Linked DNA regions of Homo sapiens: region 2 is linked to region 1. The links are contacts of gene promoters, found by promoter capture Hi-C in blood cells and fetal thymus (Javierre and others, 2016). All regions are on one chromosome and are shown on one strand. Each heading gives the region's core, a stretch centred on a gene start or on the middle of the fragment in contact. The rest is flanking DNA. Distances are from core to core; before and after follow the strand shown.

The links. The method cuts DNA at HindIII sites, captures the fragments that hold promoters and counts their contacts. A CHiCAGO score of 5 or more calls a contact.
Region 2: a contact is called between the fragment with the promoter of YIF1B here and the fragment with the promoter of SAMD4B in region 1, in 4 of 17 cell types (total CD4 T cells, total CD8 T cells, fetal thymus and 1 more). The highest score is 7.7, in total CD4 T cells.

What each region holds. Positions count from the first base shown.
Region 1 is chr19:39,339,234-39,344,654 of GRCh38, forward strand. SAMD4B (sterile alpha motif domain containing 4B) reads left to right here and starts at 3,188. Exons shown (of 14, transcript NM_001384574.2): 1 at 3,188-3,343. RefSeq lists a silencer at 2,877-3,306. The HindIII fragment of the contact is 6,593 bases long and covers 1-3,560 here.
Region 2 is chr19:38,314,682-38,320,413 of GRCh38, forward strand. It overlaps YIF1B (Yip1 interacting factor homolog B, membrane trafficking protein), which reads right to left and starts at 1,266. Exons shown (of 8, transcript NM_001039672.3): 1 at 1,179-1,266. The coding sequence starts at 1,236. KCNK6 (potassium two pore domain channel subfamily K member 6) reads left to right here and starts at 5,164. Exons shown (of 3, transcript NM_004823.3): 1 at 5,164-5,591. The coding sequence starts at 5,270. RefSeq lists silencers at 1,101-1,590, 5,257-5,346 and an enhancer at 4,992-5,615. The HindIII fragment of the contact is 4,086 bases long and covers 606-4,691 here.

The DNA of each region.
Region 1 (5,421 bases), core at 1,938-4,437:
GTAGCCGGGCATGGTGGCATGTGTCTGTAATCCCAGGTACCAGCTACTTGGGAGGCTGAGGTTGGGAGGATCACTTGAGCCCAGGAGTTTGAGGCTGCAGTGAGCTAGGATCACACCACTGCACTCCAGCCCAGGTGACAGAGTAAGATCCTATCTCTAAAAACCAAACAGCAGGCCAGGCGCAGTGGCTCACGCCTGTAATCCCAACACTTTGGGAGGCCGAGGCAGGCAGATCACTTGAGTCCAGGAGTTCAAGACCAGCCTGGGCAACATGGTGAAACCCCATCTCTACTAAAAATACAAAACTTAGCCAGGTTTGATGGCATACGGCTGTAGTTCCAGCTACTCCAGAGGCTGAGGCAGGAGAATCACTTGAACCCAGGAGGCAGGGGTTGCAGTGAGCCGAGGTTGCAGTGAGCCGCGATCGCACCACTACAATCCAGTCTGGGCAACAGAGTGAGACCCTGCCCCCCCCCCCCACACACACACACACACACACACACACACACACCAACAATGACTAAAATACTAAGTTATCTGTCACCACCCCTACCCCATTGCCTCTTGGACCTTGTCCTTCACTGCCCTCTTTTGCTCACTCCACTCCAGCAATGCTGGCCCCTTTGTGGTTCTGTGAATGATCCTACTACATGGCCTTTGCACTTGCTGTTTTCTCTTTCTGGAACCCACTTTCTCCTTCATTCCTTCAGATTTCTGTTTCAGTCTCACCTAATGAAAGAGGCCTTTCCCCATGTAAATTAATTCTGGCTGCATTACTCCATTCCCTTAGCTGCTTTCTTGTTATTTATTTGTTTATTTATTTAGAGACATAGTCTCGCTCTGTCACCTGGGCTAGAGTGCAATGGCAAATCTCGGCTTATTGCAACCTCCGACTCCTGGGTTCAAGTGATTCTCCTGCCTCACCCTCCTGAGTAGCTGGAACTACAGGCACGCATCACTATGCCCAGTTAATTTTTGGCATTTTTAGTAGAGACAGGGTTTTGCCACTTTGGCCAGGCTGGTCTCAAACTCCTGGCCTCAAGTGATCCACCAGCCTCAGCCTCCCAAAGTGCTGGGATTACAGGCATGAGTCACCATGCCCAGCCACTGCTTTCTTTTTCTCCTTGGTACTTATCACGAAGTTACACTGTATTTCCTTATTGTTTGTGTCCCCAAGAACTAGAATGTAAGTCTTTTTGTTTTTTTTTTGTTTTTTTTTTGAGACGGAGTTTCACTGTTGTTGCCCAGGCTGGAGTGCAATGGCACGATCTTGGCTCACTGCAACCTCCGCCACCCGGGTTCAAGCGATTCTCTTGCCTCAGCCTCCCAAGTAGCTGGGACTACAGGCATGTGCCACCACGCCCCGCTAATTTTGTATTTTTAGTAGAGATGGGATTTCACCATGTTGGTCAGGCTGGTCTCGAACACCTGCCTCGGCCTCCCAAAATGCTGGGATTACAGGTGTGAGCCACCGCGCTCATCCTATTGTTGTGTTTCTAGCACCTTAAGCAGAGCCTGGCACATATTAGATAGTCAAGAAATATTATTGAATGAATTAATGAACCAGCAGTTAATGAGCACAATAATTCTATGCAGTGTGAAGGCTGTTGCTTAAATGCAGGAGGTAGTGGATGGGGTTTGTGACATGGCCCCACCCTGGTGAAACAGCCTTTCCTCAAAGCGTCTATAATGCCACACTCTCCTGGTTTTCCTCTCTCTGGCTGCCTTTTGCAATATTCATCGACAGCGTCAATTCCTTTGCTCAAATCCTGCCTCTCTGTTTCAGGGTTCTGTTCAGTCCCTGTCTCCAGTGACCCTTCATACCCTCCCCGGGCTAGACCCCTAACTCCCACAGCCTCAATTACCATCTTTGACGATCCTTAAATCTTGGTCTCCAGCCTCAATTTCTCCCTTAAGCTCCAGACCCAGGGTTTGTGCACCTCCTGGACCTCGCTACTAGGCATCCACATTGGGCTTAGTATCTTCCCAACCTGCTTCTGGCGCCCAGTCTCCCGGCTAGAGGGGCCTGGTCCTAAACTTTTCTCCCCCTTCCACTCCATAGCCAGCCAGTGTCAGGGCCCGTTCGCTCTGCCTCCAGGGCGTCCCTCCCACCTGCACCTCCTTCCCTCCCCACAGTCCCTCCCTCGTGCAAACCCCCTCTTTCTTCCCCACCCCCTCCCCCAGCTGCCTCCCTGGACTCCCGATCCCGTTTCATTCCCTCCAATCCGCCCTCCATGTATAAGCCAGAGAGACATCTCTCCAAAACCCCAGACTCACCATGATCCTCCCCGGCTTGAAGCCCTTCACGGCTCCCTAGTGCCCTCGGGACAAGTCCAAACTCCCTCAAGTGGCCAAACAACTGGCCTCTGCTCGTTCCTCACCCCTCCCTGTCTTCAACTCGACCCTCCATCCCGACTGCCTCTCTAAGTGCCTGTAACAAGCCAGATCTCTGTCACCGAGAGCCTTCTGAACACAGGTCCCTCTGATTAGTTCACCCGGACCCAATACAGTTTGTGGAACGCACAGATCACAACCAAAGTCACAGCAACAACTCCCGTTTATTGACAGCCTCCTTGATCCTTAGCGCTTTCTGTGCATTCTCTTCCCACCCTAAAGGCTAGATCTCGCCTCGCCATTCCCATCGGAGAGAGCAAGCGGCAAGGCTGAGAACAGCGCGATGAGAAAGCCGAGCGCCCAGAAGCCCGAGTGCAGACGCCCACTGAGGACAGCCTTGGGTGAGGCGGGCCACCCAAGGGGCGGGGAAGAGGAGGCCTGGAACGCCTGAATCAGGAACTGTGACTTCGCTCGGGGCAGCTGGGGTGGACGCGCGCGAGCCTGCCCCCTGCGGGCCTGGAGGCCCAACCTCAGACTCCGCCGGGCCCGTTGCCCTGGGCAACGCCCCGCGCGCCCCGCCCCTTCCCCGCCCCCCAGCCCCAAACCCCAGGCCTGGCCGACTGCCCGTCACCCCCACGTCCGACCAATCCCGCCGAGGAGGGGGCGGGCCTCTTGGGCCCCGTTCCACCACCGTCGCTCCCCCCTCGCCGCGACCCCGCCTTACTCGGCTCACACCTCCCGCCCTTCGGGCTGCCCTCGCCGCCCGTTGGCTGGCGCGCCGTTCGTCACCCGGGCGTGAGCTAATGCCGGCGCGCGGCGGCCCCCGTCGGGGCGGGGCCAGGGGCGGTGACGCACGGCGCGGTGACGCAGCGCGACGGCGGCGGCGGCGGCGGCGGCGGTGGTCGGTGCGGGAGGAGGGAGGGGAGCTTGCGGGCCCGAGAGGGGGCGACGGCGGCGGCGGTGGCCTGAGGAGGCCCGAGCGGCGGCGGTGGCGGCGAAGGCCGAGGCGGTGAGTCTCGGGCCGGGCCGGCGCGGGGCGGCGGCGAGTCGGGGCGCGCGGGGCTCCCCTCAGGGCGACCCAGGCCGCGCGGGCGGCCCCGCCCCCTCAGGGACCCCGAACCGCGGGCGGCGGCGGCGGGCGGGTGCGGAACGCGGGCCTCGGGGGGCCGGGCCCCACGGGAGAAGCCCCGCGCCCGTCCCCAGTCTCCCTCCTGGGCCCTGGCCGAAGCTTCCCTCCGAAATCTTTCTCATGCCCTCGGGATTGCCGAGGGGCCGGGCCGGGGGCCTCTCCTCAGGACCCCCCGCACATCCCCCTCGGAGAGCCCCGGAAAGCCTGCCGATCCCCCGTGTGCGCCCTGAAAGGTCCCCGCAAAACCCACCCCTCCCGTGGAGTCGCCTCCTCGAGCCCTTCATGGGTCCCAGCAGCTTTCCTCGCAGACCCCCGCCCTTTGGCCCCGAAGCCCCCGTCCTCCTCCTGTCTCCAGAAATAGTCCTCGGAGGCCACTCCTCGTCCATTCCACAGCGTGGCTCTCATAGCTGCTCCAGGAGCCTCCCTCACGAGCCCTGCACACCTCCCCAAGGCTCCCTCCGGACCCCTGTCCATTCCAGAACTCTCCCCCGGAGCCCTGCCTCTCACAGCCCAACAGGCTCACCCGACTTCCCCCTCCCGGATCCTAAGAATTTTCCCTCCCACTTACCCCATTCCAGAAACCTCCTTGGAGATTTTCCGCTCATACCCCCTGCATTTCTGATTCCCCCTCCCAGAAGTCCTTCAGAATGCCCCCGACGGACCGTGATCATCTTCCCTGAAGATCTCCTTCCCATATCCCCAAAATAAATCTTCCTCACAGACTTTGTGAAATGCCCCCAGATCCCAAAAACTCACCTAGAAGACTCCATCCCCCTCCCCACCGTATTGCAACCATCTCTCATACACACTCCCCCTTCACGTATCCCTCTGGACCTTTCCACAGATCCCAAAAGTCTCCCCCAGAGGCCTCCTGTCTCCCCCTGGTCTCACCACCCTAAAATGCCCTAGAGATCACCCTCATGTAGCCCAGTGATCTTCACCGGGATCCCCTTCCCCACCCCCACTCATTCTAAAAATCTCCAGCAATTGCCTGAAATCTCCAGAGGACTCTCAGCATCATATTCCAAAAGCTTCTTCCAAAATCCCTTTTACATACTCCACATCTTTTCCAGTCCCCCACATCACACGCTCCAAAAATTGTTTAAGGATCCTGAAAACTTTCCTCATGGTTTTTCTCTCAGATCCCGTAGAACTCCCCTTCACTAACACCTCAGAATCCCCCCTTGCAGACCGGTTTTAGAGGAATTTTCTGAAGATCCTCCTCACAACCCCTGTAAGACCGTAAGATTCTCTTGGTGACCCCTCTGATATGCAGGTTTTCAGGACCCCCCCCCCCCACACACACACACAGCTTAGAGACCCCAGCGACCCCCTGGAGCCCTCCTGACGTATGTTCTTGAAATCCCTCCAAGACCTTCCTGACACCACCAGAACCCCTTGAATCAATACTTCTGCCTTACTAAGGGACTTTTCTAGAGATATCCCTCCCTGAACTTGCTCACACAGGTCCCCTAAATCCTCTAGAATCCCTTGAAGAAGACCCTCACACACACCTAATTTTCCCCCAAAATAACCCGAGCTCTTGCTCTGAGAAAGTCCTATAATTCTTTCTGAAAAACCCTCTCCTCTGACACTCTCTCAGAAGACCCCGCCTTCCCCATATACTCTTTTGGAGACTTTACTCAGCTTTCTCCTCAACTGAGATCTCTGAAGAGTTTTTCCTAAAAACATCCCTCTGTCATCCCACTCCAGGACCAGTCTCAGAAGACCACACCTTCCTCAGACACTTTTTAGAGAATTTTCTCCCAAATTGCCCTCCATCAGCCACCCACTCCCAGCGCTTCCTGAGACTTCCTCAGAACTTTCCCTCAGATTCCACTTCTGACATCCCCAAGAAACATTATTTAGGACCCTATCAGATTTACCCACTAACTTTAGAATTGCTATTTACACCCTCTCATTTCCCCATTCTCTTTCCTCTGAAGTCAACTCAGAGA
Region 2 (5,732 bases), core at 16-2,515, 1.0 Mb before region 1:
CGCCTCAGTGCAACCTCTGCCTCCTGGGTTCAAGTGATTCTCAAGCCTCAGACTCCCAAGTAGCCGGGATTACAGGTGCTCGCCACCACACCCGGCTAATTTTGTGTACTTTTATTAGAGATAGGATTTTGCTGTTACCCAAGCTGGTCTCCAACTCCTGGCCCCAAGTGATTCGCCCACCTCGACCTCCCAAAGTGCTGAGATTATAGGTGTAGGCCAGCACGCCCAGCCTGCCCTCTCACTACAAATCTCCTTCTCCTGGGTAACTTTTCATGATCAGAATTATCCTCTTCCATGCCGGGTGCGGTGGCTCACGCCTGTAATCCCAGCACTTTGGGAGGCCTAGGCGGGCGGATCACCTGAGGTCGGGAGTTTGAGACCAGCTTGACCAACATGGAGAAACCCCGTCTATACCACCCCGGGCGTGGTGGCCTGCGCCTGTAATCCCAGCTACTTGGGAGGCTGAGGCAGGAGAATCGCTTGAACCCGGGAGGCGGAGGTTGCGGTGACCTGAGATCGCGCCATTGCACTCCAGCCTTGGCAACAAGAACAAAACTAGGTCTCAAAAAAAAAAAAAAAAGAAAAAGAAGTATCCTCTTCCAGGAAGCTTCACTGACACCCCTAGGCTGGGTCATGTGCCTCCTCAGGGCTCCCACAACATCTCCATCCCAACACAGGGCCTGACACATGGGAGTTGAGACAAGTTAGGTTGAATGAATAAATGAAACACACAGCACACTCACGGAGATGAAGAGACAGGAAAAGGGGGCCAACAGCACAATACAGGTTCGCTTCTTAAATGAGCGGTAGGCATGGCCCTCTGCGCTCCCGGGGGGCCACGAAGCTGTCCTAAGGGTGTGGGCGACAGCAGGCGGGTACTGGGGAGCCACGGAAGGGTGGGGAGCAGGGAAGGGCGGATCGCTAACTGCAAATGAATGAAAGTTGCATTTCTCTGCATATCGCACGCTATCCAGTCCCAAGTTGTTTTCTTCTAAAGGAATTTCCTAAAGAATCGCCCCCCAAGGGGCCTCCTACCCGAACCTGGCATCCCAGCGCTGTGCACACCTCAGGGTTCCAGATCCTTGATCTCGTGACCTCTGACCTGCAGTGACCTCGCCAACCGACGCGGCCGCCCCGCCACGCCCCCGCCCGCCCGATCTCCTCCGCCGGCCACGTACGCCACTTACGCAGCCGGGGCGTCCCCGCAGCCGCCGCCGCCAAGCCTGCCGGGTGCATCCTTCGCCGCCGCCACCTAAGCCGCGGTTCGGAGCGTGCCCGCCCGGCTCCCGTACCCACGCCCCGCCGGCGAAGAGACAGCCAATGGACGTCAGGATTGAGGGAAGGCCTCGCCCCCACCCCCCCGACCCCTCCAGCCCCCCCCTTCACGGAGGCCTGGACGACTGGGCGGTGCCTTACGTAAGAGGCGGAGACTGGGCTACTGGGCTCATGCAGTAAAGCGAGTCAAGGCCTGAGTGGCAGGAGGGCGAGGCCGGGACCAATCCCAGGAGGAGGCGGTGTCTGCCACGACAGAAAATGAGTGTCTGCCCCTTGCCGGGGCTCACGCCCCTAACTCCAGCACTTTGGGAGGCCGAGGCGGGAGGATTGCTTCAGCCCAGGGATTCGAGACTAGCCTGAGCAACATAGTGACCCTCGCCCCGCCCCATCCCTACAATTTTTTTTTTTTTTAATTTAGCCAGGCTCAGTGGCTTAACGCCTGTAATCTCAGCACTTTGGAAGGCTGAGGATCGCTTGAGCCCAGGAGTTCGAGACCAGCCTGGGCAACAGCGAGATCTCCATCGCTACAAAACATTTTTTAAAATGTAAATATCGAGCGAAAAGGTCGATGGGAAATGCAGTTCTCTGCAGACAGCCGTTCAGTTTGGGTCATTGAGAGCACTGGAGAGCCAGAAAAGGCTGTGGAGCAAGGAAAAGAGAAACATTTGTGTTCCTGAGGGGCTAATTGGAGTTGTAGGGGCTTATACAATTTTTGACATCCCTTAGGTATTAAAGTAAATATTTATTTATTTTGAGACAGGGTCTTCCTCTGTTTTCCAGGCTGCCTCGGACCCCCTGAGCTCAAGTGATCCTCCTGCCTCAGCCTCCCCAGTAACTGGCACCACAGGCATGCACCACCATGCCCAGCTAATTTTTAAATTTTTTGTCAAAACAGGATCTTGCTATGTTGCCCAGGCTGGTCTCGAATTCCTGGGCTCAAGCCATCCTCCTGCTTCAGCCTCCTAAAGCATTAGGATTACAGACATGAGCCACAGTGCCCGGCCTTAAAGTGAATATTTAGAGTGAGAAAAGGAAACCCAACAAGTTAGGTGAGAAGAACCAGGTGTCTCTCTTGGAATAGATCTTAAGGCAGTTTCCCAGAAATTCATAAAAATGTTCTCACATTGCAACCTGGTTCCCTCTGTCCACCAAAAGCATTCTACAACCCCCAGCAACTCACAGCACACAGGCGCACCTGCAAGTGAAGAGCCCTGCCCACCTAGCGTCCTTAGTCTCTCCTCTCTCTGACTCTCAGTCTCCCCCCTTCTCTCCCTCTCAGACTCCCCGACTTATCTCAGGAAAACATAGTGGTGGAAGTTACTTCTGCGCAGCGATAGCGCATCCGGAAGGATGTCAGCAAGTGACCCTATCGCTGTGGCTTCCTCTTCCTCCTCTGAGACGTTGTCTTTTTGGAGACCTTAAGGGCTGCTCCTGGTTTCTCAGTGATGAGTGCTGGCTCCACTGTGGTTCCTTTTTGTGAGCGAAATGCCCGCATTCTTCTTCACCTCTGATTTAGCCTCTGTCCCCTGGGCTCCAACACCATTTTCTCCTCATCCTCAGCCCTCTCTTGCTCTGGTTGCTCCAGATACATCTCTTCCATAAATGTTTTTTTTTTTCTTATTGCTTTTTTGTTTGTTTTTTGAGATGGAGTCTTGCTCTGTCGCCCAGGCTGGAGTGCAGTGATGCGATCTCGGCTCACTGCAACCTTTGCCTCCTGGGTTCAAGTGATTCTCCTGCTTCAGCCTCCCGATAGCTGAGATTACAGGCGTGTGCCATCGCACCTGGCTAATTTTTTGTATTTTTAGTAGAGACAGGGTTTCGCCATGTTGGCCAGGCTGGTCTCGAACTCCTGACCTCAGGTGATCCACCTGCCTTGGCCTCCCAAAGCACTGAGATTACAGGCATGAAACACCGCACCCAGCCTTATGTATATATATTTAATTAATAAAGCAAGTACTGCCAAGTGCAGCGGATCACGCCTGTAATCCCAGCACTTTGGGAGGCCAAGGCGGGCAGATCACCTGAGGTCAGTTTGAGACCATCCTTGCCAACATGGCGAAACCCTGTCTCTACTTAAAATACAAAAATTAGCTGGGTGTTGTGGCGGGCATCTATAATTCCAGCTACTTAGGAGGCTGAGGCAGGAGAATTGCTTGAACCCAGGAGGCAGAGGTTGCAGCGAGCCGAGATTGTGCCATTGCACTCCAGCCTGGGAGACAGAGCGAGACTCTTGTCTCAAAAAAAAAAAAAAAAAAAAAAAAAAAGCAAGTTCATTAGTTCATTGGCTTCCTGCTGGCCTCATGTTCACCCCTTACCAGTTGTGTGACTACTACTTTTTATTTTTTTGAGGCAGGGTCTACTCTATCACCCATACTGGAGTGCAGTGGTGCGACCATAACTCATTGCAGTCTCTAATTCCTGAGCTCAAACGATCCTCCTGCCTCAGCCTCCCGAGTAGCTGGGACTACAGACGCATGCCACCACACTTGGCTAATTTTTGTATTTTTTGTCGAGATGGGGTTTTGCCATGTTGCCCGAGCTGGTCTCAAATGACTACTTCATTTTTAAGCCTAAATTTTCTCATCTGTTTAGTGGGAATTATATTGGGACGGGGTTGAGAATTCAGTGCAAGTTCAGGTGTCCACAGGGCCTGGCAGAATGTAAGCCTTCGATCACTGGCACCTATTGTGTTACTGATTCTATTATCAGGTGCCTCTGCTTCTGGATTGTCAACCCCAAGTTGGGCTCTGCCCGGTGATCTGCCAGCTCTTTAATAGAACCAGCTGGGACATGTCTGAGCTGAGCCCCAAGCCCCACTCCTCTGCCAGTCGGATGGGGTTAGGACTCTGGGCTGCCCTCCAAAAGGCTGTCAGGAAGGCGCTGAGTTCTGGCTGGAGGCAGAAGTGGAGAGACTTACGGGGGGGCGCAGAAAGAAAAATTTCCTCTTAAATAGAGGCGTGTATTTGTGATTCTGCCTGGCTTGTTTCCATTCATCCTTCATGCTTCAGCTCAGCTAGCCCCTTCCTCAGGAAGCTCTCTTGACCTCCCTAGGCAGGGGTGGTTGCTTCCTCTGGACTCCCAGGGCCCTCTAGGGCTCCCTGATTCCAGGCTTGATCATTGTACCCTTGCTTCCCTCATCACAGCCCTGACCACTCTGGGCTGTCTTTTTTCTTTTTTTTAGAGATAGGGTCTCACTCTCTCCCAGGCATAGCTCACTGCAGCCTCGAACTCCTGGGCTCAAGCAATCCTCCGACCTCAGCCTCCCGAGTAGCTGGGACAACAGGCGTGGGTCACTCTTGTGTCAGTCTCCCAGTTAGACTGGGAGCCCCATGAATGCATGGCGCAGGATGGTCTCATCATTACTGAGTCTCCAGGATCATCCAGCGAGGGGTCAGCAGAAAGTGGGCATTGAACAAAGCTTTGGTGAGTAGCTGAGGATCCCCACTCTGTCCACACGGGCACAGGGGACACCTGACTCTGTGGTGTCCGCTGTTCCCACTCCGAGGCTCACAACTTGGCGAATGGAGCGAGAATTGGATTTCAGTTTGCCCCTTGCTCCGTCAGCCGCGCGCCCTGATGCAGTGCACAACCTTAGCTGCTGTGCGCGATGGGGGGCGACTCCTCGGCCTGCGAGCAGAGAGGAAAGTTCAGATTCTTCTAACATAGAGAACCAGCCTTCCAGGAGGACGAGAAGGAAGGAATGAGGGGAAGAGAGGACTACCTCCACCCTTTCCATCCCGTTGGTCTGCTGGGTCTGGGAGCACTGGGCTCCACCCTCTCCGAACGAACACCTGGCGGTTGGGCGTGCCTCAGTTTCCCGGAGGCGGGGCATTCCTCCGTCGCCGCCCCCCACCTCCCCTTTTTCCTCTTCCTCTTGGGGCATCTGCTGCCGCGCCTGTAGCACTCCCGGAACTGGAACTAGGTGCCAGACGGTCCGGAGGCGGGGGCCACGTCAGCGGGGCCACCCAGGGCTCGCGGGGTCCCGGTGGGTGCCATGCGGAGGGGCGCGCTTCTGGCGGGCGCCTTGGCCGCGTACGCCGCGTACCTGGTGCTGGGCGCGCTGTTGGTGGCGCGGCTGGAGGGGCCGCACGAAGCCAGGCTCCGAGCCGAGCTGGAGACGCTGCGGGCGCAGCTGCTTCAGCGCAGCCCGTGTGTGGCTGCCCCCGCCCTGGACGCCTTCGTGGAGCGAGTGCTGGCGGCCGGACGGCTGGGGCGGGTCGTGCTTGCTAACGCTTCGGGGTCCGCCAACGCCTCGGACCCCGCCTGGGACTTCGCCTCTGCTCTCTTCTTCGCCAGCACGCTGATCACCACCGTGGGTACGTAAGCGCCTCACCGCAAGGCGGCGAGGACCCGGGATCCCCACTTCATCCTTAACCCCTGGGGACCCCGGGGCCCTCACGAATACCCTTATCCCAATCCCCTCTGGGCTTCGGATCCCCCGAAAAGACCCCAGTGAG